4 separate regions of the Homo sapiens genome follow, and all the other regions are linked to region 1. Evidence: promoter capture Hi-C in 16 types of primary human blood cells and fetal thymus (Javierre and others, 2016). All regions are on one chromosome and are shown on one strand. The core of a region is centred on a gene start or on the middle of the fragment in contact, and the rest is flanking DNA. Distances in the headings are between cores, read along the strand shown. Region 1 holds the start of C11orf65 (chromosome 11 open reading frame 65). Region 2 overlaps ACAT1 (acetyl-CoA acetyltransferase 1). Region 3 overlaps NPAT (nuclear protein, coactivator of histone transcription). Region 4 overlaps NPAT (nuclear protein, coactivator of histone transcription).

Evidence for each region. Contacts are between HindIII fragments. The CHiCAGO score rates a contact against its expected background, and 5 or more counts as called.
Region 2: a contact is called between a fragment that was not itself captured here and the fragment with the promoter of C11orf65 in region 1, in 2 of 17 cell types (total CD4 T cells and naive CD4 T cells). The highest score is 5.8, in total CD4 T cells.
Region 3: a contact is called between a fragment that was not itself captured here and the fragment with the promoter of C11orf65 in region 1, in 1 of 17 cell types (naive CD8 T cells). The highest score is 5.3, in naive CD8 T cells.
Region 4: a contact is called between a fragment that was not itself captured here and the fragment with the promoter of C11orf65 in region 1, in 1 of 17 cell types (total CD4 T cells). The highest score is 5.5, in total CD4 T cells.

Annotation. Positions count from the first base shown.
Region 1 is chr11:108,464,955-108,471,893 of GRCh38, reverse strand. C11orf65 (chromosome 11 open reading frame 65) reads left to right here and starts at 4,365. Exons shown (of 9, transcript NM_152587.5): 1 at 4,365-4,423. RefSeq lists a cis regulatory region at 4,281, enhancers at 4,209-4,353, 4,294-5,146 and a silencer at 6,178-6,472. The HindIII fragment of the contact is 4,195 bases long and covers 1,007-5,201 here.
Region 2 is chr11:108,139,251-108,143,720 of GRCh38, reverse strand. It overlaps ACAT1 (acetyl-CoA acetyltransferase 1), which reads right to left. Exons shown (of 12, transcript NM_000019.4): 7 at 3,506-3,656; 8 at 2,021-2,116; 9 at 1,171-1,284. Among named protein-coding and RNA genes, the nearest start is that of ACAT1, 20 kb to the right of the region's middle. The HindIII fragment of the contact is 4,039 bases long and covers 700-4,470 here.
Region 3 is chr11:108,166,098-108,173,036 of GRCh38, reverse strand. It overlaps NPAT (nuclear protein, coactivator of histone transcription), which reads left to right. Exons shown (of 18, transcript NM_002519.3): 13 at 1-838; 14 at 2,994-3,109; 15 at 3,185-3,293. Among named protein-coding and RNA genes, the nearest start is that of ACAT1, 48 kb to the right of the region's middle. The HindIII fragment of the contact is 921 bases long and covers 2,234-3,154 here.
Region 4 is chr11:108,190,833-108,197,771 of GRCh38, reverse strand. NPAT (nuclear protein, coactivator of histone transcription) reads left to right here. Exons shown (of 18, transcript NM_002519.3): 2 at 352-470; 3 at 3,755-3,815; 4 at 5,582-5,654. Among named protein-coding and RNA genes, the nearest start is that of NPAT, 28 kb to the left of the region's middle. The HindIII fragment of the contact is 1,146 bases long and covers 3,576-4,721 here.

The DNA.
Region 1 (6,939 bases), core at 3,116-5,615:
GCAGGAGGATCACTTGAGCCCAGGAGTTTAAGACTAGCCCTGGCAACATAGTGAGACCCTCAACTTTACAAAAGAAAAAATTTAAAAATTAGCTGGACATGGTGGTGAACACCTGTAGTCCCAACTACTTGGTAGACTGGGGTGGGATGACTGCTTGACCCCAGGAGTTTGAGATTACAGTGAGCTATGATCATGCCACTGCACTCCAGCCTGGACAACAGAGCAAGATCCTGTCTTGAAACCACCTCTGCAAAAATTATAAATGAGAAAATCATTACAGTGAAAGAGATCTGACCTAACCAACTCCATCTTGATTCTAACCTCCAAGCTGTCCCTGTTTATTCCTGGGCATAGGCCAAACTAACCTTGGGAGGAACTTAGTTTATAGTTTAACTTTGAAACAAAGATGGTAACAGCGCTTTCCCAAAAGAAGCCCTCTTCATGCCTGAGGATTAGACTGCCTTTGCAGGACTAACAAATTAGCTGAAACATAGAAATTATGATTTAGGATTCATACATCTGAAGGCTGCCAGACTTTGAGCCTCCTCAAATTGCTCCTGGGGATAACATCACTATTGTAAACCTAAAATCAGTGCTTGAGATATTTTGCAGACCCTGCACTTGATGATTCCACTAGCATCACTCAGATCAATAAACTGGCTTATCTGGTCTTGTGGCCCCGACCCAGGAACTGACTTAGCATAGGAGGACAGCTTCGACTCCCTTTGATTTCATCTCTGACCCAACTAATCAGCAGCTCCCCACTTTCTGATCCCCTACCCACCAAATTGTCCTTAAAAACCACAATCCCTGACATTTCAGGGAGACTGATTCAAGAAATAAAACTGCGGTCTCCCATACTGCCAACTCTGCAAGAATTAAACTCTATTGCAATTCCCCTGTCTTGATAAATTGGCTCTGTCTAGGCAGCAGACAAGGAGAACTCATTGTGTGGTTACAGTCTCAAAAAAAAAAAAAAGAAAAGAAAAGAAAAAATATTTAAGCTTGGCACCATTATTTTTGTTGATGGTGAAAATACTAAAAGGGGCCAGGCATGGTAGCTCACGCCTGTAATCCCAGTACTTTGGGAGGCCGAGGTGGGTGGATCACAAGGTCAGGAGATCGAGACCATCCTGGCTAACACAGTAAAACCCCATCTCTACTAAAAATACAAAAAATTAGCCAGGTATCATGGAGGGCGCCTGTAGTCCCAGCTACTTGGGAGGCTGAGGCAGGAGAATGGCGTGAACCCAGGAGGCAGAGCTTGCAGTGAGCTGAGATCCTGCCACTGCACTTCAGCCCGGGCAACAGAGCGAGACTCCATCTCAAAAACAAAAAAAAAAAAAGAAAAAGAAAATACAACAAGGGTACACAGAAGACAAACAGTCCCCTGGCATAACAAGAGTCACTGTAGTGAAGAGGACAGATTTCTCAGCCAAGAATTAGCTAAAGGTGCCAACTCCCTTCCTCTAGCCTCTTCAAACTGCTAAGCCTCAACAAGAGGATTGATGCCTGGTTGGAGGTCCCTCTGGCCTCCTTTAGGACCACTGCAGGACCTGTGCCTTTGACCCACACCCACTCCTCATGTGTGACATTGTGGTTTTCTACTACATGACATATTTTCCACAATTATAAAAGATTCCATGCTCACATCCGGGAGACAGCCTTGGAGTCCCCTATTGTTGGAGTTTGCTCCAGTGCCAAAGCAGAGAGGAAAGAAATGGCATATAATTGTGACTCTTCTCCCTAGGCAAAATGGCATGTAATTGTGACTCTTCTCCCTCGGCACTACAGATATTTCCCCTTTCCTCATGCCAATTCATTTTTGTTTCCTTATCTCTTGTCTTCACATGGTTTATAAAGAAAAATCTTTGCCTTGTAAGTGGAAAGCAAGAATATTAATTTCATAAATATAATATGATATATTGTATAATAGTAGTAAGACAAAGAAGAGAGAAAAAGAAGAGGAAGAGAATAAGTGGAGAGGGGAAGAGAGAAGGAAGGAAGGAACGATTTCTGTGAAACCACCCAGAAGTTCTTCTGAGTTCTGCGTCTTAGTAAACTGTTCCTAGATTTAAGCAGGTACATATAAATGAATAAACCTAACACTTGACAGTTTCTAGTCTTAATGATCCCTTGTGGCTACTTTAAAGAAAGATACTTTTAAAGAACTGAACAATTTTTACATGTATTAGAGCAATAAGAAAATGTTCTAGCCTGTTATGTAGAAATTGCTGAATTCTTGTGGATCAGGTTAGAGGTAACATAAGTACTCAACAGTAACTATTGTAAATACTTTTTAAAATAATTCAGATAAGCACTACATTAAAAATATGCAGTTTATTAGGTTGATGCAAAAGTAATCGCGGTTTTTGCCATTATGTTTAATTATGTATGTTTAATGACAAAAACCGCAATTACTTTTGCACCAACCTAATAAAAATAATATCTAAACAGCAGTATACCTTAAATTTATTTTTATATTTCATCCAGTACATTTAGGAATTTTTGTTCTAAATTATTTACTGGCTTAGTTTTGCAGTTTTTTAATTTAAAATTTTTAAATTGTGGTAAAATATACATAAATTTATCCTTCTAACTAGTTTCAATTGTACAATTCAGTGGACTTAAGTACATTCACATTGTTGTGTAATTTTGAATTTAATTTTTTTTTTTTTTTAGAGGGAATCTTGCTGTGTTGCCAGGCTGAAGTGCAATGGCGCTATCTCGGCTCACTGCAACCAACCTCTGCCTCCCGGGTTCTATCAATTCTCCTGCCTCAGCTTCCTGAGTAGCTGGGACTACAGGCAGCGCGCCACCAGGAGATTGAGACCATCCTGGCTAACACAGTAAAACCCCGTCTCTACTAAACATACAAAAAATTAGCCGGGTATCATGGAGGGCGCCTGTAGTCCCAGCTACTTGGGAGGCTGGGCTAATTTTTGTATTTTTAGTAGAGAGGGGGTTTCACCATGTTGTCCAGGCTGGTCTTGAACTCCTGACCTCAAGTGATCCGCCCACCTCAGCCTCCCAAAGTGCTGGGATTACAGGTGTGAGCCACCACACCTGGCCTGAATTTAAATTTTTTAACCCAGTTTCTATTAGATTGAAAATTAAGATATACATAATGTTTCCATGACTATATTTTTACAGTTTATTGTTCATAACTACTGTGTATTAATGCATCAAGGCAACTACATAAAGAGGAACTGAAGCTCACCCCTTGCTTATGATTGTGATGATTTTAAAGAACTCTGGAAGTTCAGTGAGTCACTGAATTAACCTACCAAGAATTTTTTCTGTACAAATGTTTTCATTATACAGGGAAATTTCTCTTCAGGTGTTTCTTTTCCCTCCTTAAAAGTTTATCTTCCTTACAAACAAATTATATTCCATGCATGAACATAGGACGAACATAGCAAAACTGGGCAGTTCTGAACAAGATTTTTTCACATTGCAATAATCTGTGACCAACTAAAGCACTGCCAAAGTGTCAGACTCAGAATTCAAGCAAGTCAGACTTGCTTTAGATAAGCAGTGCTTGCATTATTTAAGGTCATTTGAAAACTCATTCAAGAGGTCGTCTGTTTTCACTTAAAGCAGTTTAGCTTAACCAGCTGAAGAGCTTACATTTAGAAATAACATTGGACTGCAAGTCACGTATTCTTTGACCTTGAGCAAGACCTGTCAAATAGCTAGAAGGATCAGTTGTCTCATTTTCAAATGAATAAATTAAACTAATTAAATAGGCCGGGCGCGGTGGTTCACGCCTGTAATCCTAGCACTTTGGGAGGCCAAGGCGGGAGATGGGGTAGGGGGGGATCGCTGGAGCCCAGGAGTTCAAGACCAGCCTGGACAACATGGAGAAACCCTGTCGCCACTATTAATAAAAATAGAAAAATGAGCCTGGCGTGGTGGTGCACTCCTACGGTCCCAGCTACTCGGGAGGCTGACGTGGGAGAATCACCTGAGCCAGGGGAGTTCCAGGCTGCAGTGAGCCGAGATCGCGCCACTGCACTCCAGCCTCGGCCACAGATTGAGACCCTATCTCAAGAAAAATTTTACAAAAATTAATAGAAAATATTTCATTATATTTCTCAACATCTTTAAGGTTCTTGGTTGAAATGACTGGGCTTTATTATATACTAAGCCCAACTTCGTAGACAATCACTTTGCTTTCCCTTCCAAAATCCTTTGCCTCAAAGCCACTGACAATCGAAAGCGGGCTTCTAACAGAACCAGCAGCCTTCACAAGCGGTTGGTCTATATCCCCTGCACTTTGTCAGAGCGCGAATAGAGGAAAGGCGGGGCCTAGAAGGCGGGGCTAGGAGGGCAATGGGGCGGGACAGAACGGATTGAGTTACGTCATTTCCGCCTGCGACGTTACCTAGGAGTCCAGCGGCGCCCGGGCCAGCAGCGATTGGTAGGTGAAGGGAATAGTGTCCCTTCTCTCAGCGCGTACTACTGTTCCGGTAGCCTTTGTGCCCACTGGTTTGAGCCTTCGTTGTTTCAAGGCCCTAAAGAACCCATACCCTTGATACCATTCCCCATCCGCCCCTCTTAAGGACGTTTCATTCCTCTAAAGCCCTCCCAGCGAGGCCTCCAGCTGGTTTACAGTCCTGCCCGGGAGTAACCCCTTCCTCAGAGCTCCTTTCCTCGCCCTCGGTGAAGTTGCGTCGGGCTGGTTGACAAGTCCTTACTGCTCATACTGCGCCTTCACAGATCCCCACACCCCAATCCTCCGCAAAGATATTACTCCGTCCACCTTCCCGCTGACCGGGAAGTACACATTAATCTTCCTTAGATTTTTCCTCATTTCTTTCCTTTGCCCCCTCCCATTTGTTTTACGTCTTTTCAGTTTTTTTAGAGATGGAAAAGGGAAACGCGTTTTTAAAGAATAGGTTAGTTTTTCTTCTCCTGCCCCTAGCATCAAGGACCACAGGTAAAAAGGAAAAGCGAAATTACGAAACTTATAAAGGCCACGCGAATCATTTGTTTATTCAATAAATTTAGTAGAGGAAACAAAATAGGACGTATACAGGTTCCAATTCAAGCAAAGTAAAGATTGTTTGCTGCTTTAAAAGTGAAACCAAGAATCCAAACACGTCTTGTGGGCTTTTTTCCACGAAGCGTAAAAATAAATAAGTGAAAACATCATCTATTATGATAAAAAATTTTATTGATTAGGGATATAATAAGCTTGGAAAATACTTATCTGTGAATCTACAAGTGGCACATGGGTGTAGTAAAATACTTCATTGCCTGAGCAGTTGTTTGATAGTACATTTTATTTGGTTAGTTTTTTGTTGTTGTTTGTTTTTGAGAAGGCATCTCGCTGTGTTGCCCAGGCTGAGTGCAGTGGCGTGATCTCAGTTCACTGCAACCTCTGCCTCCTGGGTTCAAGTTATTCTCCTGCCTCAGCCTTCCGAGTAGCTGTGACTGCAAGTGTGCGCCACCACACCCAGTTTATTTTTGTATTTTTACTAGAGACAGGGTTTCACCATATTGGCCAGGCTGGTCTCAAACCCCTGACTTAAGGTGATCTGCCCACCTTGGCCTCCCAAAATGTTAGGATTACAGGCCTGAGCCACCAGACCCGGCCTGGTAGTACATTTTAGTATCTTAAAACTTATGAAGGGTTTTCACAATGGTTATTTTATCTGGAGCATCATAATAACCATATAAAGTCGATCTTATTTCTTATCTAAAGCCAGCAACGGTCCCACCCTCCTTTCTGCTCCAGATGGTGTCCTCTTACACCTACTCAAAGGTTTTACCATTTAACTTATCCCTTTTTTTGCCCCTTTAAGTTCTCCGTCACTTTAATTTCTCCCTCACTACTGGATGGTACATTTTAACATGCTTTAGAATCTGTCGTTTTTTGTTGTTGTTGTTGTTTTTTTTTTTTTTTAGACCGAGTTTCACTCTTGTTGCCCAGGCTGGAGTAGTGGCATGATCTCGACTCACCGCAACCTCCGCCTGCCAGGTTCAAGCAATTCTCCTGCCTCAGCCTTCCTGAGTAGCTGGGATTACAGGCATGCGCCACCACACCCAGCTAATTTTGTATTTTTAGTAGAGACGGGATTTCTCCATTTTGGTCAGGCTGGTCTCAAACTCCCAACCTCAGATGATCCGCCCACCTTGGCCTCCCAAAGTGCTGGGATTACAGGCGTGAGCCACCGCGCCCAGCCTTTTTTTTTTAAAAAAAAACCTTTAATCCATTCTCACTCTCTAGCTACACCCCATTTTTCTGCTCCCTTACAGCACTCCAAAGAATTACTACTGTACTTACTGTCTCAACTTTCCCACTTCCTCAACCCAACCCAAACTTCCTTCCCTGCTTACTCCACTGAAGCAGTGCCTGTACAGTCACTAGTGACTTTATCTGGCCAAATCTCCCTTTTTTTCCTCTGTATTTACTTGCCCTTGCAACAATATTTGACACAATTGAATATGTTCTTTCTTGAAATTGTGGAACTTCATTGTTTATTTCTGAATCAGATAATTTTGAATGCTGGAATATATTTCCTCTATATTTTGTGTATTCATAAACATATAATGGTGGCATTTATGACATACTTTTTTGGCAGCTTCTAAACACCCTTTAGCCTATGTCACTAGAGAAGCAGGAAGCAGGTGTATGCAGAAAGCCCGTGTAAAATTATTTAGATCAAAGTATTCAATAAACTGGTTCAGGATTTTCAAGGGATTTTTAAGATCCAGTGTTAAATTTCCACCTACAAAATTGGGAATGTATTTGGGAAAATGATGAAATTGTGATGAATTAATGCTAATGCTGTCACGTTAAATAACACACACACTACATTGATAACAGGTAAAAAATCTCACAGTTTAGTTCTTGGAAAGTATTAAAAGACCCATTTTAATCCTAATATCTAATTTACGTTTAGTTTTTTACTTTTCTAAAATTTAGAGTCA
Region 2 (4,470 bases), core at 1,470-3,969, 330 kb after region 1:
TAGTTCAGATGCCACTGGGTAAAGACTAAGGATTCTGCTAAACATCTACAATGCATAGAACAGTCCCTACAACAAAGAATTACTTAGTGCAAAAGTCAATAGTGCTGAGGTTAAGAAACCATGATCTAAGCTAAGAAAAAAAATGAAGTTATAAGGCTTTTTATAAAGTAACAAAATAGCATCTGTTAAGTCCTTAGGAAGAAGGCAAGACAGATTTCTGCAGCTAAAAATCGGCTTAAGGACATTGAGAACTTGCCCAAGGCCACAGAGTTAATAAATACTAAAACACCACACATGTAAATTTTGTATTTCTGGACTCCTAATCCCATATTCTTTTTTTCCTACATAGCTGCCTCTGTAGGAAAATGCATGTACTTTATTTTCTGCTATTTATCATACAGGACAGGAAGTTTTTTAAAGCTTAATTTAAAAAAAAAGAAAAAGAGACAAGATCTTGCTCTGTTGCCTAGGCTGGCTGCAGCTTTGACATCTTGGGCTCAAATGATCGTCAGCCTTAGCCTCCTACGTAACTGGGACTACAGGCATGCTACCACACCTGGCTAATTTTTTTCTTTCAGAGGTGGGGTCTCACTGTGTTGCCCAGGCTGGTCTCAAACTCCAGGCCTCAAGCAATCCTGCCTTATCCTCCCAAAATGCTGGGGTTACAGGCGTGAACCACTGTGCCCAGCCCTTAAAGCTTAATCTTATATAAAGTATAATGAAAATATTAAAGGAGCTTCTATCTCAATTGAAATATGTATCAATTAAATTCTGCCACAAGTACAACCTAGGTAGTAATACTTAATATTGGAGTTGGCTATATCTAACAAGTAAACTCAATTTCATGAAGAGCTTATAGATGTTTAGAAACCTTATTTTTTTTTAAGACAGGGTCTCGCTCTGTCACCCAGGCTGGAGTGCAGTGGTACAATCTCAGTTCACTGCAACCTCAAACTCCTGGGCTCAAGGCATCCTCCCACCTCAGCTTCCCGAGTAGATGGTAGTACAGGCACATGCCACCATGCTCAGCTAATTTTTTAACTTTTTGTAGAGACGAAGTCTCACTATATTGCCCAGGCTGATTTCGAACTCCGGGGCTCAAGCAATCCTCCCACCTCAACCTCCGAAAGTGCTGGGATTACAGGTGTGAGCCACCTCGCCTGGCCTTACCTACTATTCTTGCCAGTGGTGTAACATTGAGCCTCTTCGCTGCATCTGCCGTCATGAGAACCAGAGCAGCTGCTCCATCATTCAGTGTACTGGCATTGGCAGCTGTTACTGTGCCTGAAAGCAAAAATGAGGTTGAAGTCAAAACATTCCTTCACAATAAATGTATTTGGTTCAATTCAACAAATACCTATTGCCTGGGCTGCTAAATGTTTAAAGAAATTACAAATATGGGTGGAGACAATTCCTGCCCTCAGGAAACATGTACACAGCTAACTGCAAGACAATGTAAGAATGCCTTTTTGTGTACATAAAACAGTTTTCTCAAACATCACAAACATGCATGATGGCACTGGATAAATGCTCGTCTACAACTCTTGAAACATAGGGACCAGTTAATATTTTTGTCTCCAGGGTCTAACTTTCCTTATTCAATATATAGCAGGTACTCACTACATATTTTTCAAATCAGATATTTATTCTTATCTAGAATCACCTGGAGATAAATATAAATGAATGTTAAAAACTACCAAACCACTTTAAATAGAAGAATGTTATTATGGTATATAAATTATATCAATAAATCTGTTTTTTTCAATGCCAATGAAGACCCTATCATAGACTGCTACATATGAAAAACTGAATTCTATAGTCATGTTATACATATCTTCCCTGGGATTTATATATTGAAGGTATAAACTACCAAAACAATTTTACATGAGCCTGATATACTGAAAATGTTAAATAACATCTAGATGTTTTCTAGAATTTTTCAAAATCCTTAGGCAATTCTAAGAACTAGATATGGTATACTGGCTCAATTTTTTCTTATGCTTCATTTCTTAACACTAACCATTTTCTTTCTGGAAAACTGTCTTCAGCTTTGGAACTTTGCTAAAATCAACACGTTTATATTCTTCATCTTCTTTCACCACTACATCTGGTTGACCTAAAATAAAAATATTTTAAGTAAAATCGCTCAAAACAAGTAGTCATTCAGCAAGCAACTGTTGTACAAGATGCCTAGTAGTCTGTGCCTCCCTTTGTATCCCTGCTTCACTTAAACCATCCCAAGTAAACACTCATCTAGAATCTGTTAACTATAACCTCTATTATGTTACCATCTTAAAAAGAGAAACTTACAAAGTAGCTTCACAATTTTTTTTTTTTTTTTTTTTTTTTTTGAGGCAGGGTTTCCCTCTCCTGCTTAGGCTGGCATGATCACAGTTTACCTCATCCTCTCCAGGCCCATGTGATCCTCCCACCTCAGCCTCCCAAGTAGCTGGGACTACAGGTGGGAGCCACCACAGCCAGCTAATTTTGTTTGTTTGAAATGGTCTTGCACAGTCTCCCAATAGAGTGCAATGCTACAAACCTAGCTCACTGCAGCCTCGGACTCCTGGGCTCAATTGATCCTCCTGCCTTGGATTCCCTAGTAGCTGGGACTACAGGCGTGTGCTGCTATACCCAGCTAATTTTTAATTTTTTTGTGTGGAGGCCAAGTCTCACTTCGTTGCCCAGGCTGGTCTCAAACTCCTGGGCTCAAGCAATCCTCCCACCTCGGCCTCCCAAAGTGTTGGGATTACAGGTGTGAGCCACTGCACCCAGCCACAAAATTTAAATCTTCTACACCTCCATGTCCCCTTTTCTTCCTCAACTCCCTTCTATGATCACAGACCCCACTCTCCTGACCCCAGAGGCAGCTGTCTGACCTACACTAGATAAGCTCTAGTATTCTGTCACCTAGAGCACAGTAATCATTCCTGGAATAGAATTGTAACCTAAAGCAAGTTAATGAGTCTTCATTGTGGATTTATTCTGCTGGAACTGGTGAGAAAGTCTCTCCTTTTTGAGAACCCTATATATGTGACCCTAGAGGTAGAGGCAGCAACTTTAGAAAGGCTGAGAGAATAAAGCACAAAAGCCTGCAGGTGTGAGAAGCCAAGAGAGCATGTCTTAGTAGTAGTGAACACCCAGTTCCAATCCCTGAAGTTCCCAGAGCTGAATGGTTGCTACTGTTCATCCTTCAGTTCTTGGAGGCACTCCCGGTAACCTTCTAGTAAATCCCTTTTCAATTTAAAATACCGTATTGACTGTCACAGGAAAAAGTTCTAATAAATTTCTCAAATTTAAAGTAATACTCAGGGATCTTATAAATGGATTGAAATCTGACATTAAGTTGGGTAGATTTATATTCTCTCTGAACTGGCAACTCTTCACTTTTTATTAACCATAAGCAGTTGAAATGAACCAAGATAATGTCCTAATTTAAAACTTAAGCATAAAACATTCAGCAACATGAAAAGTCTATTCATCCTTTTTGGAACATTATCTCTACCTTTTACTGTAACTGTGACAGGAATAACTTCATTTCCAAATTTCCCAGCTTCCCATGCTGCTTTACTTCTGGTATAAGAATTAATAGCATAAGCGTCCTGTTCATTTCGTGCAATATTCAGCTTCTTTGCTGTATTCTCAGCACAGCTGCCCTGATAAAAAGTTGAAATATTTTAAAGTTAACTTTGCATAATTTAGAAAATATCTATTAACTTTGCCTAACTTATAGTGTTTAATAGTTAACGTTTCTTAAAATATATTTCTTAGGCCGGAGGTGGTGGCTCATGCCTGTAATCCCAGCACTTTGGGGGGCCAAGGCAGGCAGATCATGAGGTCAGGAGATCAAGACCATCCTGGCCAACATGGTGAAACCCCGTCTCTACTAAAAATTAGCCGGGCATGGGGGCACGTGCCTGTAGTCCCAGCTACTCGGGAGCCTGAGGCAGGAGAATTGCTTGAGCCCAGGAGGCGGAGGCTGCAGTGAGCTAAGACTGTGCCACTGCACTCCAGCCTGGGCAACAGAGCAAGACACCATTTCAAAAAAATAATAATAACATATATATATACACACACACATATATATTTCTTTCTATACCAGGTCACTTTTCACTCATGTCTTTTTTTGAGACGGAGTTTGACTCTTGTCACCCAGGCTGGAGTGCAGTGGTGCAATCTTGGCTCAATGCAACCTCCACCTCCCGGGTTCAAGCAATTCTCCTGCCTCAGCCTCCTGAGTAGCTGGGATTACAGACACCACCACCACGCCTGGCTAATTTTTTTGTATTTTTAATAGAGACAGGGTCTCACCACATTGGCCAAGCCGGTCTCAAACTCCTGACCCCAGGTGATCCACCTGCCTCGGCCTCCCAAAGTGCTGGGATTACAGGCCAGAGCCACCGCACCCAGCCACTCATGTCTTATCTTCACATACTTGAATTAGCCAAGCAGTTGCCAGCTAAGCGTCAG
Region 3 (6,939 bases), core at 1,445-3,944, 300 kb after region 1:
GAAGCTCAGGCATCCAAGTCTGAGAATTCACAGGAGCCTTCATCTTCTGTAAAAGAAGAGAATACTATTTTTCTCTCTTTAGGTGGAAATGCTAACTGTGAGAAAGTTGCACTGACGCCTCCAGAAGGCACTCCTGTAGAAAACAGTCACTCTCTTCCTCCAGAATCTGTGTGTTCTTCAGTGGGAGATTCTCACCCTGAGTCCCAAAATACTGATGATAAACCTTCTAGCAACAACTCAGCAGAGATAGATGCATCAAATATCGTCTCTCTCAAAGTTATCATTAGTGATGATCCATTTGTTTCCTCAGATACTGAACTTACCAGTGCTGTTTCTAGTATTAATGGAGAAAACCTGCCAACTATAATCTTGTCTTCTCCTACTAAATCACCTACTAAAAATGCAGAACTAGTTAAATGCCTATCTTCAGAAGAAACTGTAGGTGCTGTTGTATATGCCGAAGTAGGGGATTCAGCCTCAATGGAACAGAGTCTTTTAACATTCAAATCTGAAGACTCTGCAGTAAACAATACTCAGAATGAAGATGGCATTGCTTTTTCAGCTAATGTTACACCATGTGTTTCCAAGGATGGAGGATATATACAGTTGATGCCAGCCACAAGCACAGCTTTTGGCAATTCAAATAACATTCTGATAGCTACCTGTGTGACTGATCCAACAGCGTTAGGAACATCTGTAAGTCAGTCTAATGTAGTGGTGTTGCCTGGAAATTCTGCACCTATGACTGCTCAACCTCTACCACCTCAGTTACAGACACCACCAAGGTCAAACAGTGTATTTGCTGTCAACCAAGCTGTGTCACCAAACTTTTCACAAGGTAACTTTAATAACATAATTGAAATTTGTTTCTCTGGGTTGGGATCTAATTTCTTTTGTATGTGATGTTATTGACTGCGAAGTAATAACTAATGAGTAGATGGTATGAGAAAAGATTCTGAAATTTGTGATTACGCTGCTTCTTTATGCTAGCTAATTCAAACCTTTTTTATTTTTCTTAATCTGCTAGTAAGCTATGGGCTTTAGTGGTTTTTCTTTTTTCTTTTCACAAATACTTCTCAATCTATGTGCTAGTAAGTTACAATAAACAGAAAAGACAGACTAATTCATCACATAGTTGTATAAAACCCAATGTTGTGGGGGAGTTTTTAAAAATAGCTCTTATAGTCATGGTCTTCAGGGAATTCATCATCTTTTTGGAGAAATTTTCAAGAAAAACTTGAATTTCAGCCGGTTATGGTGGCTCACGCCTGTAATCCCAGCACTTTGGGAGGCCGAGGTGGGCCGATCGATCACCTGAGGTCAGGAGTTTGAGACCAGCCTCGAGAACATGGTGAAACCTCATTTCTACTAAAAATACAAAAAAATGAGCCAGGCATGGTGGCAGGTGCCTGTAATTACAGCTACTTGGGAGGCTGAGGCAGGAGAATCTCGTGAACCCAGGAGACAGAGGTTTCAGTGAGCCAAGATCATGCCATTGCACTTCAGCCTGGGCAACAAGAGCGAGACTCTGTCTCAAAAAAAAAAAAAAACTTGAATTTCTTCCTTTATAAAATCCTTTCTAATTGATCTCTGTCTTTAAAATCCTTTGTTTATGGCTGGGCTCAGTGGCTCATGACTGTAATCCCAGCACTTTGGGAGGCCGAGGCGGGCAGATCACCCGAGGTCAGGAGTTCAAGACCAGCCTGGCCAACATGGTGAAACCCCGTATCTACTAAAAATACAAAAATTGGCATGGTGGTGGGCACCTGTAATCCCAGCTGCTTGGGAGGCTGAGACAGAAGAATCTAAAGCTGGGAGGCAGAGGTTGCAGTGAGCCAAGATCGCACCACTGCACTTCAGCCTGGGTGACAGAGTAAGACTCTGTCTCCAAAAAAAAAAAAAAAAAAAAAAATCCTTTTTTCATAGGGGCTCTTGTGGCATTTATTGCGTGCTGTGTTATATGTAGTTAGTGATTGATATGCCTATCATATTGATAATTTTTTATTGTATGTTCCTCAGAGATAGTGCTCATGGCACATTTATTTACATTTCCTTATGTGTTGGTTCCCAAGCTTCCCTCTTTTCCCTTTTTGTTACATTATAGACATACAATAAAATTTCATTAAATATCAACAATTAGTATTAAACCTAATGGGTCTGTTTTACGTGCTGTTACAAATTACATAAAGGAGAGGTCAGAATTAATAGAGAATGTGGGGCTTGAGCTAAAGCTTAAAGAATGAAGGTAGGATTTGGAGTTAAAGCAAGGAAGTTTTTATAACTTATAAAATCTGTAAGTTATAAAGAGAAGCAGCACCAGCATAGACAGAGAGACCGTAGTAGGTTGCATGAAAATGAGGGGATCAACCTGACAGTAGTGTATTAGGCAAAAGTTTGTTTATGGACAGGACTAAATTACAGTAGCCACAAACTATGTTGTTGACTTCTGAGGACCATGTAGACATTGTAATTTTCCCTCCATAGTTTTGACCAGTTACGTGCTTACCTTACCCCCTTTTGATCAATACCATTGAGATATGTAATAGGTTGGGGTTACAAGTGTAGTCCTGGGTATAAATATTCAGTTGGGGTTGTAATTTTCTGGTGTAAGGTTCAGACTTGAAACATTCACCACTCATTTTCTAACTAGTTTCATTATTTCTAGAGGAATCCAGATATGATTGTAATATGATGTCTTGGCTGTAGAGTCTTATGCTTGATCAGCATGGTTCACTGACTGAATAACATTAAGACCACCTTAATATTTGGATTGACTTTTTCTTAATTTGTTAGCCTTGCTGTTTTTCCTAAAACTGTTTCAGTTTCGTTTTTTTTGTTTTGTTTTGTTTTGTTTTTGGAGAGTGGATCGTAAGGAAGAGGGATTGTTCATAGAATTTATTTCAAAGCAGTAATTAATTTGTGCCAAACATTTGTTTGTTTTGTGCCAAAACATTTCAGAGAAAATCTTTTTTTAACAAGAATTGTTTTTTTAGGATCTGCCATAATAATTGCCTCTCCAGTCCAGCCTGTACTCCAAGGAATGGTAGGGATGATCCCAGTATCTGTGGTTGGACAGAATGGAAATAACTTTTCTACTCCTCCTCGGCAGGTAAGATTTATGAACTGAAAATGGTGTGGTGATGCTTTTCAAGCTTAGTGTAATTAATGGCTTTTTCTCTTCCAGGTTCTTCATATGCCTTTGACAGCACCTGTATGCAATAGAAGTATCCCTCAATTCCCCGTCCCTCCAAAATCTCAGAAGGCTCAGGGACTAAGAAACAAGCCTTGTATAGGTACCATTTTTAATTTCATTAATGTTAACTTTATGTTTGTATGTTCATTTGTTTGCAGCAACACCTAAATGTTTTCTTTCTGAATACCTAAACCATTTTAAAACAAGTGATCACCCTACATTTGCTAGTAACAGATGTCATAATGCAGCCAACTGTTACTGAACAGCTTTGGTTCTGAGAAAATTGTCTCCTTTGTTGAATCTGTTAGCTTTTGCCCAGTAGTCCTTGGTTTGTTCTTTGCAGCTTCCCTAAATTAAGTATAGTCCCTATTTTTCCCAACAGCTTTCAAGTGTTTAATGAATGCCTCGTATAATTGTATGAGACTTTAGAGCAGTTCTTCTTGTAGTTTAGTGTGTATATGAACTATTTGGGGATTTTGTTAAATGCAGGTACTGAATTGATAGGTCTGGTACAGCACCTGAAATTCCTCATTTCTAACAGCTTCTAAGCAATGCCAGTGCTGCTGGTACTGGACCACACTTGAAGCAAGGCTTTAAAGTTTGCAAATTACCTTCCTGTGTTCCCTGTTTTAGCCATTGTCCCAACCATCTGTTTACTTGTGAAAAACCTGGTAGTCACTCTTAAAACACATTTTCCTCTCCTTCTTAGTTCAAGTATTTGTCATTTTTCATCTAAGTTGTATCAATAGTGTCATGTAGTCTCCCTTCTTTTAGTCTCTGTTGTTTCAGTTCACCTCATATCTGCTGGCTGAGTGACTTTTTTTCCCTAAAATACAAATCTGAATATGTTGCTTTCCTGCCTAAAAACTTTCAGCAACTCCCCTTTGCCCAAAGGATAAAATTGAAATTTCTCAGGGTGACATATGTGCATACATTTGTCATCTAGTCACTCTCGACCTCTCCATCTCATCTCTTACCACTTCCCAGCATGGACCCTTTGTACAAACTATAGTTGCTGCTCACCTTATACTTGGTGATCTTTCTTGTCCCTGTACCTTTTACCAATGCTATCTCTTCTACCTAGAATTCCCCCTTCTTACCCAACTCTTACCCTCAATCTGGTTCTTATTTATCCTTCGAAATTAACTTAAATGTTCCTAGGAAGCATTTTTAACCAGCGGTGGCTGAGGTGGATATTCCGGTTTTATTTTTTTCTTTAATTCTTAGTGATACCTATGCTACAGCACTTAACACATTACATTGTATTTCTTCTCAGTAGTCTGAGTATCTTAAATGCACTCATTATACAGAGAACTCAACTAACTGCTATCAAATCAGCCTTTCCTTAAACTAAACAGTATACATCTATTGATGTAGGCTTAAGTTGCATTTTGACTTATTGAGGCACCCTCTTAGACTTATGTCCTGTTATAGCTACTCTATATTATTTTTATGTTCTTTCTTATAACTAGTTCATTCCTTTTAATGGCCATTTGATATCTATCACTTGCATAAATGTATTTTATATATGTCCTATCAGTGGACTTTTCAGATGTTTTCGATGTGACATGCAATGATATGAGGAACATCTTTGTAAATGCCTCTGTGTGAACCCATATGAGAGTTTCTTTGGGGGCTTATTCCCAGAAATCTTTGGGTATACTGGGTATAATAGAGAAGAAGTATATCTTCTCTATGACCCAGAATTTCTGAGTCATAGAGAAGAAAATTTATACTTCTACCATTATTTTCCCTGCTTCCCTCACAACACTACCAATATTTGATACCATGTGATATTTTAACTTTTGCCACTATGATGGATTTAAAGTGGTAGTATCTCATATCATTCTTTTACTTTATTCTGATTACTAATAAAGTTTGGAATCTTCTCTTATAACTATAAATAATATTTTCCCTTCTGTGAATTGCTTATTCATATCCTTTTCCTACTTCTCTATTAAATTTCCTGTCTGTTGAGGTGTTATACTTTTATTAGTAACATATCACAGATGTCTTCACAGTCTGACACTTGTTTTTATCCCTTACAAAGTTGATACCAGAAAAAAACATTGGTGAGGTTAAGCATCCATTTATGATAAAAGCTCTTAAAGGCTATCTATAGTAAACATCATGGGTTCCCTTTAAAGCTGTGAATAACACAAAGATACTCATTCCCACCCTGTATGTAATAAGCCAGTGTTTCCAACACCAGTAAATTAATTATTAAGTAATCAGTTTTTTGCCCCACTGACATCTGATTATACTTCCACCATAAACAAGGTCCCATACATCCATACATATGTGGTTCCAGACAATACAGTAAGAAAATGGAGCTGGGCATGGTGGCTCATCCCCATAATCCCAGCACCTTGGGAGGCTGAGGCAGGAGGATTGTTTGAGTCTAGGAGTTTGAGACCAGCCTGGGCAATATAGTGAGACCACATCTCTAGAAAATAAATTTTTTAAAAGTAGCCAGCTGTGGTGGCAGATAGTAGTCCCAACTATTCGGGAGGGTGAGGCAGAAGGATTGCTTAAGTCCAGGAGGTTGAGGCTGTAAGTAAGCCATGATCATGCCACTGCATTCCAGTCTGGGCAACAGTGAGACCCTGTCTCAGAAAAGAAAAGAGATAGGTGTAAAGATTTGAAGAGAGGGAATTAAACTGTTATGGAAAATGATGTGATTTTTACACAATAAAGCCACAGGGAGTTAATAGAAAAATTAATAGAACTAATAATTCAGTAAAGTTGCCAGGTATGGTTAATTAAAATTGTGTTTTAGGTGCCAACAATAAACACCTATTAAGTGTTATACAAAATAAGATACTGTTTATAATGACCACAAAAATGATAAAGTATAAAGGAAGTAACCTAACCAAAAATGTTAGAAATGGAGAATATTTGAAATCTTTCATAAAGGATGTATAAATAGAAGAGAACCATGTTCATAGATTTGAAAATTTAACAGTGTAAAGATTGCAATTATTCCAAGTTGAATCAAAAATTCAATGTAATTTTCCTTAAAAATCCCAGTAGAATATTTTGGGAGATGGGAAAAACTATAAAATCTATGAGAAAGAATAAAAGTCCATGACTAGCCAAGATAGAAGAGCAGAGGACAGACTCATTCTACCAAATGGTAAAATATTGCAGAGCCACAGTAATTAAAACAAAAAGACAAATGGAACAAGATAGTTTAGAAAGAGACCTTGTACATGGTAATGTTAACATCAGAAGTCAGAGCAAGATGGATGGTATAATATATGAAATGTATTGATCATTAAATATACAATATATAGAGAAGAAAGTAGATCCCTTCCTCATACAAAGATGAAGTCCAAGATGATTAAAGACCTAAAAGTAAAAAGTCAAACAATTAAATGATAGAAGAATGTATAAGAGAATATTTTTATGACATTAGGATAAAGGATTTATTTATTTTTTTATTTTTTTTTAGATGGGAGTCTTGCTCTGTCACTCAGACTGGAATGCAGTGGCATGATCTCAGCTCACTGCTACCTTCGCCTCCCGGGTTCAAGCGATTCTTCTGTCTCAGCCTCCCTTGTAGCTGGGATTACAGGTGCATGCCACAACACTCAGCTAATTTTTGTATTTTTAGTAGAGACAGGGTTTCACTATCTTGGCCAAGCTGGTCTTGAACTCCTGACCTCTTAATCCCCCCACCTCGGCCTCCCAAAGTGCTGGGATTACAGGCGTGAGCCACCACGCCTGGCCTGGGATTTCTTTTT
Region 4 (6,939 bases), core at 2,899-5,398, 270 kb after region 1:
TATACCATCAACTGACTTGGTCTTTATGGAAGTTATGCAGTAGAGGGACATAGTTATTTATCATTAATTTATTGGTTCTCCTGTAAGTACTGTGAAGTAATTATACTTTGTTAAACACTTTATTTTACTAGTTTAGCTAGAATTGTTTCTTGTGAAAGGGCCACCTGTTCTATGAACTGTACTTTGTATTGCAGCACAACCTGGTGTTTCTGTTCAAGGCTGCCAAACACTAGAGCATTCCACCTAAGGTTTCAATTGTGACATCAGTACATGCTACAGCATTTTCAATAGCAGTTTTAACCAAAAGTACAGAATTTAGTATAAGTACCTAAACTTTTATTTTTTATTTAGGTTACTTACAGCAAGAAAACCTCATTTCTACCTGCCAGACTTTTATTTTGGAAAGTTCAGATTTAAAAGAATATGCAGAACATTGTACAGATGAAGGGTTTATTCCAGCCTGCTTACTGGTGAGTTATTTGTTCCTTAAGGGAAATATTTCATCAACACAAGAGACTAAAAACATAGTCATAAAATCAGCTTATCAGAAAAAAAAAATTGAAATTGGCAGAAATTTGGTGGTTTATATTCATGCATGACTGGTAAGACCCAAAGAAGACCAGCTTTTCTTTTTACAAATTTATGCCAAAACTATTAAATGAATTACAACTTTGACTCCGAGAGTTAGTTTCAAAATGACACCCTCGTTTCTGATTAGTTTCGCTGCTGCTGTCTCCAAGCCTTTTTTTTTCTTCCTGACCTGTATCTGGCTGCTCCTTTTAGACAAATATAAAACAGATATTTTGATATATTATTGTCATCTCTTTTGTTAAATATCACTAGACCAACAAACCATCATTTGGTACATAGTGGATACCTTCCAGAACTACATCATTTCACATGGTGTTTGCCATTTTATTTTAATCATGGCTCCTTAAAGGCTATCACAGATAACATGAATGTCTGCTTAGGAAACTGAAAATGATGCAAAACTAAAGTTAAGCAGGGTCATAGAATACAGAATATACACAAATCCATTATATTCCGTATGCCTGCAATGAACAATTGGATTTTGAAAATACCCGTTTATAATAGCAACAAACAAACAAACAAAATGCTTAGAGATAATCTAACAAAATATGTGTGAAATCCAAATGCTCAAAATTGCCTGAGATCTAAGGCCTGAATAAAAGGAGAATTGTATTGTGTGTACAAATTGAGAGACTCAATATTGTTAAGGTGTTAGTTCCTCCCAATTTAATTATAGATTTTTCACAGTCAAAATGCCTGCAAGCATTTTTATAGATAACACAAAGCTGAATTCTAAGTTTTAAATGGAAAAGAAACTAGAATAGCCTAAACAGTTTCTGAAAAAGAACAACTTGGAGGACTCACATTACCAGACTTCAAGACTTACTAAAAAACTATGATAATCGAGATGAAGGGGCATTTTTGATAGTTTAGGCATGTGGAACCACATACAAGTCCATGTAGAGACCCACACATCTGATTTTGACAAAGGATTAAAGACAATTCATTGCAGAAAGGATGGTCTTATCAACAAATGTTGCTGGAACACTCAGACATCCATATGTAGAAAAAGAACCTCTACAAATACCTCATACCTTATGCAAAAATTAACCAAAATGGATCAGAATGTAAAACACAGGACCGTAAGACTTCTAAATGAAAACATAAGAAAAAAATTGTGCAAAGTTGGATTTGACAGTGAGTTTTATATATGACACCAAAAGCATGGGCTATAAAGGCAAAAATTAGGCAAATTCAACTTTATAAAAAATTAAAAACTTGCTCTACAAGAGGCACGTTAGAAGAAATAGGCTGGGCCAGACCCAATGGCTCATGCCTATAATCCCAGCACTTTGGGAGGCCCAGGCAAGAGGATTGCTTGAACTCAGGAGTTCTGTACCAGCCTGGGCAACATAGTGAGACCTCATCTCTAGAAAACAATTTTTAAAAATTAGCCAGGTATAGTGGTGCACTTAGTCCCAGCTGCTTGGGAGGATGAGGCTGGAGGATTGCATGAGCCCAGGAGGTCAGGGCTGTTGTGAGCCACAACTGCACGGCTGCACTTCAGCCTGGGTGACAGAGTAAAACCCTGTCCCAAAAAAAAAAGGCTGGGTGAAAATATTTATATCTTACATGTCTGATAAAGGGTTTGTACCCAGAACATATGTATAGAATTCTTAAAACTTAACAACAAAAACCAAACAATTTTTTAAGTGGATAAGAGATCTGAAGATACTTTACCAAAGAAAATATACAGATGGCAATAAGCATATGAAAAGATCTTCCATATCATTAGTCATTAAGAAAATGCAAATTAATACCCCAGTGAGATACTAATTCCTGTTAGAATGGCTAAAATAAGAAAACAGGTTTAAAAACTGGCAAGTCCTTCACCACAAATATGCAGAGCAGCAGGAACTCTTGTTTCTTACTGGTAAGAATTAAAAGTCATACAGTGGCTTTTGAAAACAGTTTGACATGATTATGACATGATTATATGATTATGCATGTACTCCTCATGTGAACCAACACTCACATTACCCAAATCAATTGGAAAACTTGTTCTCACAGAAAAACCTAGACACTGGTGTTTGCTTATAGTGGCTAAAAACTGAAAACAGGCTAAGTGTGGTGGCTCACACCTGTAATCCCAGCACTTTGGGAGGCCAAGGCGAGTGGATAGCGAGGTCAAGAGTTCAAGACCATCCTGGCCAAGATAGTGAAACCCCATCTCTACTAAAAATACAAAAATTAGCTGGGCATGATGGCGTGCGCCTGTAGTCCCAGCTACTCGGGAGGCTGAGACAGGAGAATCGCTTGAACCCAGGAGACAGAGGTTTTGGTGAGCCGAGATTGTGCCACTGCACTCCAGCCTGGGCAACAGAGCAAGACTCCATCTCAAAAAAAAAAAAAAAATACTGAAAACAGGCCAGGCGTGATGGCTCACACCTTTAATCCCAGCACTGTGGGAGGCTGAGGTAGGAACATGGCTTGAAGCCAGGAGTTCGAGGCTATAGTAAGCTGTGAGCAGCCACTGTACTCCAGCCTGTGTGACAGAGCAAGACCCTGTCTCTAAAAAATAAAAATAAATTTTAAAAACTGGTGACAACGAAGATGTCTTTCAAAAATTGACAAACTCTGATGTGTTCATAACAGCAATACTCCACTACTCAGCAATAGAAAGCAACATGCTATTGATTCACACAATAACGTGGATGAATATTAAATAAATCCTTCTGATTTCTTCTAAATTAACAATTCTGAACAAATAACAAATTGTAGATAGTGGGAGCCAGATTTCTCACTGTGTGAGGAAGAAGATACAAATAAACATAATAATGAAACCAGTGGTGTTGGGTTATAGTCTGAGATATTGGTATGACACTGTAGTTATTTTAATATATATATATACAGCTAGATGATACAAATGCTTGTGTATATGCATTTGTACATGTATGTATAGCTGTCTGCTGAGAGGGTCTGGAAGCAGTGATACCCAAGTAGCTATAATGTCCTAGTCAAACAGGCAAGATTCTTTAGAAGCTTGGATGCAAACCCTAATTTCAGTGGCTATTTTCATTTTCGATTACCTGCTTCTTTACCCTTTCCTCATCGCTACTCTGCAGTCAGATCTTTTATTAAGTTGAATGGTAGAATCTTTTCTTGTGAGAAATTATTGGTAGTATTATACAATTTTGGTAATATTTGATCTTTTTCTTTTCAGTCCTTATTTGGAAAAAACTTGACAACAATTTTAAATGAGTATGTAGCTATGAAAACAAAAGGTAAGAGTTCTGATTTGGAGTTTTTTTGCTGATGTATACAATATTTATCTACTTGATTTAGTTAAAAATGATTTCTAAAGGTTATTAATGTCTCATAAAAGCCTTGAAAAAACTTGTCCCTGTTGTAATGAGATAAATTTTTCTGGGACACATCTAATTTGTTTGTGGGTTTTGGTTTTTTGTTTTGTTTTGTTTTTTTGGTTGTTGTTTTTTGTTTTTTTGGTTTTTTTTGAGACGGAGTTTCAATCTTGTTGCCCAGGCTGGAGTGCAGTGGCGTAATCTCAGCTCACTGCAACCTCCAGCTCCTGGATTCAAGCGATTCTCCTCAGTCAGCCTCCCAAGTAGCTGAGAATACAGGCATGCGCCACCATGCCCGGCTAATTTTGTATTTTTAGTAGAGCCAGGGTTTCTCCATGTTGGTCAGGCTGGTCTCGAACTCCCGACCTCAGGTGATCCACCCACCTCGGCCTCCCAAAGTGCTGGGATTACAGGTGTGAGCCACTGCCCCCAGCCATTTGTTTGTGTTTACATTGAGTGGTACATAAATTGCAACAATCTTTATGTTAGCAAAAATAACCCAAAAACTACCTTTAAAAAATATGTAAAATAAAACTCTTACCTCTGTGTTATCTACACTGATAAACAGACATCACTATGTGTTAAAAAGTTTTAAACTGACATTTTAATTTTAATTCTATGTAGTCTAAGTCTGAACACAGAAGCCAGTCATACACTGGCTTATAGTTACTAGAATATAAAATTCTACTTGCCTAAATTAAGGATGTTTTAGAGGGAAAGTTTTGACTGCTTATTCTCTAATATTGATTATTTTCAATAGCTTACAACATTAACAAAACAATTAGCACTAAAGAATTCGCATAAGATGATAACAAAGGAAAAGAAGCTTGACATTTTTTGACATTGTCTGTGTATAAGCATTGTGCTACGTGCTTTCATATGTTTTTTTTCTCATTTAGTCTTTTCTTTGTTTGTTTTTTTTTTGAGACGGGAGTCTCGCTCTGTTGCCCAGGCTGGAGTGCAATGGCGCGATCTCGGCTCACCGCAACCTCCGTCTCCCGGGTTCAAGCAGTTCTCCTGTCTCAGTCTCCCGAGTAGCTGGGACTATAGGCGCACGCCACCATGCCCAGCTAATATTTGTGTTTTTAGTAGAGACAGGGTTTCACTATGTTGGCCAGGTTGGTCTCAAACTCCTGACCTCATGATCTGCCCACCTCAGCCTCCCAAAGTGCTGGGATTACAGGCGTGAGCCACCATGCCCGGCCTCTCATTTAGTCTTTAGAATAACCCAGTGAGAGAGATTGTTTAAAGCCATTTTTAAATATGAGAAAATTGAGGATTAAATTTCCACACTTATAAGGAATTTGCATAACCTTTATGATAATTATTATAAGACAGATTACTTTAATTCACTTTCATATGTCACATGATATCAGATAGAACAAAGATCAAAAAATTGTTTCTCCTTTTTTTAATAAAATGAAGGTGTAAAATTATTGGCCAAAAAATGCTTCAGAGATTTTACAGATGTCCATTTCTACTCATATTGTATCTGATACTCAGTGGCTTTAGAAGAGAAAGCAACCGCATTATAGCTTTGCAAGCTATTTTACAACATAGATTTATTTCTCATTTTCCAACATACTGTCAATAATTGAGAGACAAGGTTTTTTGTGTGTCTTTGTTCAGAATGAATGATGAAATTTCTTCAGCTGGGTTTATTAAGAACCTTTTCTCCTATGATTTAGAAACATCAAATAATGTCCCAGCAATAATGTCATCTCTATGGAAGAAATTGGACCATACACTTTCTCAGATCAGGTAATAAGCTATTAGAATGTGCCTAATGATTTTGGAATGCAAATACACTTTGGGTTTAAATCTTCTTAAGACCTACACAGTGTACTTATATAACACTCATCCAGTTTTGAAATTACTCTAGAGGTTGCTGGTACTGTGGAGGTTACTGACTGACATAATTTGAAATAAATAGCATACTTTTAATAAAATATTTAGAAAACTAAGATATGTAGTAGTTTAATGACATTTCCAAGTTTCCATAGCAATTTAAAGGCAGATATATTGTTAGAATACAAATCACCTAATCCCAGGCCACTGTGAATTCCCTTAGGCAACTGTCTCTTTATTACATATTCACAGAATTGATGCGTTGAACCCATGCCCACTTGGTTTCTTAACTTGTAAAGAAAAAAGCTTGAAGAATAATGCTAATTCTGAAATCTTCTGTTATCAATTTTATGAAAATCTCATATTTGACTATAGAATTTGTTATGAAAACCATAGTCTCTTAACCTTTCTTTCAGAGCTATAAGTGACTACCCCACCTAACTTCAGCATGGGTTTCATTTTCTTCCTCTGCTTAACCTGCTAAAATGGCTCCAAATGCTTTCTTCTTAACTCTGGACCACATCTTACTTGGTAGTCTTATCTTTATATTTCTCTTTCCTGACTCGAGTTTTGTGGATCTTGTTGGAGACTTACTTGACATATTTTTTATGATAATGGCACCGTGTCTGTGACTTTATCGAATAAAGGGGTGGGCCACTCTAATTCATACTAAAAGAATTAACTTGTACTGTGAATTTTTCCATGTTTGTTGGCATCTTCTTTAGAGGTACAATAAAATAATTTCATAGTCATAAATTTTATAAAAGCTGGATGTCCTCTGACATCAACTTGGGGATTCTGAAGTATTTATATATGGAGTCATGTGAAATCAGAATTTCTCTGTGGGAAGGCATCTCTATAATTGTGAAAGATAATAAAAAATGTATACTTTGTATATTCTTACTCAAAAATGTTAATATGTAGAGTTTCTAAAGTTAAATTATCTTCTGTTCATTTTTTTAAGAGGTAGGGTCTCACTCTGTTACCCAAGCTGGAATGCGGTGGTGTGATCATAGCTCTTGTAGCCTTGAACGCCTGAGCTCAAAAGTTTCTCCCACCTCAGCCTCCCAAGTACCTAGGACTACTGGCACATGCCACCTGGCTAATTTTTATTTCATTTTATAGAGACAGAGTCTTGCTATGTTGCTCAGGCTGTTCATGAACTCTCGGCCTCAAGTGATCCTCTCACCTCAGCCCC